Regions from separate parts of the Homo sapiens genome. Here region 1 is linked to region 2. The links are contacts of gene promoters, found by promoter capture Hi-C in human tissues and cell types (Jung and others, 2019). All regions are on one chromosome and are shown on one strand. The core of a region is centred on a gene start or on the middle of the fragment in contact, and the rest is flanking DNA. Distances in the headings are between cores, read along the strand shown. Region 1 overlaps CDH23 (cadherin related 23). Region 2 holds the start of CDH23 (cadherin related 23).

The links. Contacts are between HindIII fragments. The study calls those that stand out against the background at their distance.
Region 1: a fragment that was not itself captured here is called in contact with the fragment with the promoter of CDH23 in region 2 in 8 of the 25 tissues and cell types used here (H1 embryonic stem cells, adrenal gland, bladder and 5 more).

What each region holds. Positions count from the first base shown.
Region 1 is chr10:71,523,905-71,526,604 of GRCh38, reverse strand. The region is part of intron 6 of CDH23 (cadherin related 23); the gene reads right to left. Among named protein-coding and RNA genes, the nearest start is that of CDH23-AS1, 13 kb to the right of the region's middle. The HindIII fragment of the contact is 8,250 bases long and covers 1-2,700 here.
Region 2 is chr10:71,395,635-71,398,334 of GRCh38, reverse strand. CDH23 (cadherin related 23) reads right to left here and starts at 1,415. Exons shown (of 70, transcript NM_022124.6): 1 at 1,017-1,415. RefSeq lists an enhancer at 612-1,123 and a silencer at 1,807-1,896. The HindIII fragment of the contact is 12,378 bases long and covers 1-2,700 here.

The DNA of each region.
Region 1 (2,700 bases), core at 104-2,603, 130 kb before region 2:
GAGACTAAGAGGTCCCAGGTGTCATACGAGTGGCATAAGCAGAAACTGGAGAAGGAGGTCAGTGCAGGGAACGGTCTATCTGAGCCCATGCCAGGCCTGTGCCCTGCCCCTTCCTCCTTCATGCCCCTAACTTCAGGCAGCCCTTTTCCATCTTTTGGGGCCTCCGCCCACCTCAGAAATAGAGAAGCAGACAGATAACTCAGAAACGGGGGAAGTCCCTCTGCTCACCTTGGACCCAGGCAGTCCCTCTTCCTGCCTCCTGGGCCCACGTGGAGAGCCACAGGTGAGCGCTGGATGCTGCAGTGGGGGCAAGTGTAGGGGTGGGACAGGACAGGGACAGCCACTTTGCTAGGCTCATCTGAAGCTCATTTGACCCAATTCTACCGCCTAGAGGAAGATGTGCTTGATACATGCCACAGGAGGACCAGGGACTTGGGAACCAAGGCAGGGCCCGGCTTTCTTGTAGCACCAAAGCTGGGATGGGTGAACCCCCTGCTCCACCCCCTCAGCGATGCAGAGGGCCGAGCTTTTGCTGGTGGCTATCTGGGTCCTCAAGCACTGGGTCTTGCATCCTGTTGCTGTGGGTGAAGGCTTTCAGCCAGGATCTGCTGGAGGCCAGGGACTCATTCCTCTTGGGTTCCCAGCACCAAGCATGGGCTTGGCACCCAGCAGGCCCTCAGGCAATGTTTGGTGAGTGAGTAGATGAATGAATGAATGAGGGTGGGGTTGGCACATGGAAGCAACACTCTAGCATGCCTCTGCCACTCTGCTGTAGCAAGCCAAGCAGGGACGCCTCTTTCTCTGGTTTCTGGGCTGCTGCCAAGAAGCCAGGTTTCCCAGGAGGGTCACGGATGCTCAGGCCCCCGCTGAACCCTCCTCTGTGGTGTCCCAGCAGTGTGGTGGCCACTTGTTGGATGTAGCACCACCAGCACCCCGTACCTGCCATCTCTCCCTCTCTCCCCACCTATGGTATGGGTTCCTGCCTGCAGCTGGCAGCTCTGGGTTCCTGGACTCTACCACTCCACCCCTACTGGCTTCCATGGGGCCTCTTCCCAGCCAGCTACCCTCCCTAGTCCTGGATGCTCTGCCCACGGCTGGCCCTCGTGGATTGTTCCCAAAAACCACCAGCTTCCCACTGTTGTGCAGACAACCTGCTTCCATCCTCCTGCCTGAAGGCCACAGAGAAGCAAGGCAGGTAGAGCCTGGGGGTGCTTCAGGGGTGCACTTTAGAACACATGTCCCACTGCTCTGCCTCCAAAGCACCTTGAGTCAGTTTCCTATGGCTGCTGTAACAAGTTACTACATACGTAGTGGCTTAAAACAACACAGATTTATCACCTTGTGGTTCTAAAGGTCAGAAGTCCAACATGGGCCTCAGGGGGCTAAAATCCAGGTGTCGGCCGGGCACAGTGGCTCACGCCTGTAATCCCAGCACTTTGGGGGGCCGAGGTGGGCAGATCACTTGAAGTCAGTAGTTCAAGGCCAGCCTGGCCAAATGGTGAAACCCAGTCTCTACTAAAAATACAAAAATTAGCTGGGCATGGTGGTGCACGCCTGTAATCCCAGCTACTTGGGAAGCTGAGGCAGCAGAATCACTTGAACCCAAGAGGCAGAGGTTGCAGTGAGCTGAGACTATACTAGAGCCTGGGTGACAGAGTAAGACTCTGTCTCAGAAAATAAGTAAATAATAAAATGAAATAAAATACAGGTGTCGCAGGGCTGCGTTCCTTCTGGAGGCTCCAAGGGAAATCTGTTTCCTTCCCTTTTTCAGTTTCTAGAGGACACCCACATTCTTTGGCTCCTGTCCTCTTCCTCCATCCTCAAAGCCAGCAACATAACAACCTCAGATCCCAACACTCACCTCTGCATCCACTGTCATGTCTTCTCCTCTGACCCTCCTACCTGCTTCTTATAAGGACCCTGGTGATTACAGAGGCCTCACAGAGAGGTCCTTAACCGCAAAATCCCCTTTTCCATGTGGGGTCACACAGTCACAGGTTCCAGGAATTCTGATGTGGCCATCTTTGGTGGGCAAGGGGGCATTACTCTGCTTACCACACTCCAGCCCCATTAGATGACGCGATTTCCTCCAGTAGCCCTGAGCAAGGCATCCTCCTTTTGCCCCTAGCTGCCTTTGACTGACGAGGCCAGACTCAGCCCTTCTCCCACGGCCTGGCAGGGAGCTCGAACCGCACTTCTGAGCTACCTTCAGCACGGGTCTTGGAAGAGAGCACACCAAGGGCTGGTTCATGGAATTCCTCTCTTAAAGGATATGGGCTACAGAGGAGCGGGAGGAAGCTCCCTGAGGGCAGGGACGGCATCCTGCAACAAATCCGCTGAGTCCCCACCGTGCGCCAGGCCCTGAGGGTCCGTCCACGGTGGAAAGCCACATGTCCCTGCCCCTGCTTTCACAGAGCTCACAGTCACCCGTAAGAAGCTAACAGTGATCAAATAGTCCTGCATATATGTGAGTAATTACACCTCAAGGTCAAAGCTATAGAAGCTCTGCTGCTCTGAAAGCCCAAGAACAGAAAAATCTTTCTGCATTGGGAGGAGGGATGAATTAGGAATGGAAGATCCCAGGGGAAGCTGGGAGTTCATGAAAAACGGGGAGGGTGATGTGTTCCAGGGAAGTAGAAAGGCCGTGCAAAGGCCCTGTGGCCTAGTGCCCTTGGGGACCACAAAGAAGGTGGAGGTGCA
Region 2 (2,700 bases), core at 166-2,665:
GTCTGAGAGGGCAAAGGACGTAGAAAAAGAAGGCTCTGCTTTCTGAATTACTAGGGAGGATGGGGGAGTATTACTACCGAGGAAAGGCTAATTTCCTCCCAGTGGACCGCTGACAGCACTAGGGCTGGGGCTGGGGTCGCAGTGGGGCGGCGGCTGGCATCGGATCTCCGCTCACAGCACGGAGGCAGCCTCTCTAGGTGCCCGCTCCGAGAAAGCCAGGCAGAGTCCCCGCCGGCTGGCGCCGTCACTGCCTTGGAACACGCGGGCTCTGCTCGAGTCCTGGGCTGACCTACGGTGGAGATGAGGGGCAGTGCTCCCGGGTGCCAGCTCCTGGGGGCAGCCAGCACCGCTCGTAGCGGACCAGTTCCAGGGCCAGGAAGGCGAAGCGAGAGCCGCAAAAGGCTCCCGGCTCCTCGAGGGGCGCGTCTTCCCATAGCTGGACCGAATTTGGGAGGATGTGTAAGTCCCCTGGGGTCTCCCGCGGGCACAGGGACTTGATGAGGGGAGGGGAGAACTACGTGCCTTTAGTTCCCCTCAGCGCCTCTGCCCAGCCCGCAGTAGGGGTGCGCCCCACCCCATCCCCACTGTCCAAATGGGGACCCAGGGCTCAGAAGGGGAGGGGATTGGATCCCAACGCGCTCCACTCTCGAAAATCTCTCCACCCCAGACCTGGACCCTCTCCGTAGCGCCGAGAGCAAAGCCCCCAAATGTTCGCGGTCCCAGGACCGGGGATGGGGGATGGGATGCCTGTCCTCCCAAGGCCAACGCGAATGGAATTCGAGTTCCCAGGAATCAAAGTTGCCGCGCGTCGGGGAGCTCGGAGCGGGGCGCGAGGCTAGGGCCAGGGGCCTGGGACCGAAGGATGCCGCGAGCGCCCGCCACGGGCGATGGCCGCGCTGGGAACAAGTGGTTCGGCAGCCGCGGTCACCACCAACTTCCCCGCCGCGCGGCGGGCGAACGGCGAGGGGAAGGAGAGGGAAGCGAGGAGGGAAGAGGCGGTGCGTGGCTCCGGGTACCGTGTGCGTGTGTGCAGCGGCGCCGCGCCTCGCCTCGCCTCGGGCTCTGCTCTCCGCCGGATCGGCCCCCGCGGGCCGCCTGCTCTGGCCCTGGCCACCGCCGCGTCTTCCCGCCGGCGCGAAGGCTCATCCGCGGCGTGCCGGCAGCTCCTGGGTCTCCGCGGGCCGCTCGCCGCTCGCCGCTCGCCGCTCGCAACTTCAGGCGCGCCGGGGGCTCGGACTGGGCGCGCCCCAAACGTCCAGAGGCTCTGCCACCCCGCGCTCCATGCCCAGGCCGGGCTGACTAGCCCCGACCACCTCAGCGTCCGGCCGCCGTCGGACGCGTCCTCTAGCCAAGCATCGCGCCTGCAGCCCGCGTCCCTCTCTCCCGAGCCGCCGCCGCCGCTCAAGTCCGCGATCAACTTTCCCTTGCTTCCCCCGCCCCGCTCGGCCCCCGCCCCGCTCGGCCCCCGCCGTCCAGACCCCGCCTCCCGCAGCTCCCTCCCTCACCTCCCGCCTCGCCCGGCCCCCGCCCGCCCGCCCGCGCTCGGCGCTCCCCCACCCCTCAGGCCGCCAGGACCCCCGAGCTCCCGCCCGGCCCCGCCCGGACCCCCGGGAGCGGCGCCGAGCCCCGCCGGGCGCTCAGGGCATGAATATTTCAGTGCTGGCGAAGCTGCCCTCTGCCGATGTCATGGCACCGGCTGCTGTGGCAACTCTACGAATCCCCCAAAGGGGCAGGGAGGAAGCCCGCGGAAGAGGCCCCAGGTGCGAGACAGAGCAGTGCCCCGCCAGGCCGCCAGCCGTCCCGCAGAGGGGCGCGCAGGGGGATGGGGCCCCCAGCGTCTCGTCCGCCCCGCGCCTCAGGCAGAGCGAGGTAACGCTCCCGGGAAGCCCGGGCGGGCGAGCGGGCGCTCGGCCTAGGTGAGCCCGCGCCATCTGTTGGCTTTAAGCGCCCCCTCTCTGCTCCCAGAGTCGCTGAGCAGTCCCTCTAGTCCTTGGGGCCTCTTGGCCTACGCTTCTCTCCAACCAGCTGCCTTTGCCCACCCGACTCGTGCGCTCCCATCTGCGCCTCCTCCCTCACTAGAGCTCAAGAGGCCTCCAAGTGCTTAGAAATGGAGGACCCCGGGTTGGAGGAGACCCGTGAGGTCACTTAGGCGCCCTCACCCCTGCGGGAGCTCCGTCTGCAGTGCCCGAGTCATGGTCTCCCGGCTCCTTTTTGCACACCTATAGGGACAGAGACTTTATGGCTTTCTGAGACAGCTGGATCAAGAAAGGGTCCATATGCAGGTAATGGAAGAGGTTTATCCCCTACCTTTGATCTTTACTTCCCCGGGGCTAAGCATTCTGATTTTTTAAAACTATTTCTCACATGACAGGATTTCCGAGCTGTCACTGTTCCAGTCAGTACATTGACAGTACCTGCCTGGAGCCAGGCTCTGGGCTGAGACTTTCTGGGCCTCAACTCATTCTATCTTCAATAAAGTCTTTCTGGTGGGCCCTGCCATTATCCCAGTTTTACAGTGAGAAACAGGCTTTAGGAGGTTGGGGACTTGCCCCTGTGGTGGAGTCGGGTATTGAACCCAGAATCTATCTGGTTCCAAAGCTCCAGTTCCTTACCATTCGCTCATTCATTATTCATTCATTCATTCACAGTCACTGCTATGTGCTAGCTAACTGAAATAGTTTCTAGGAATAGGATGGAGAA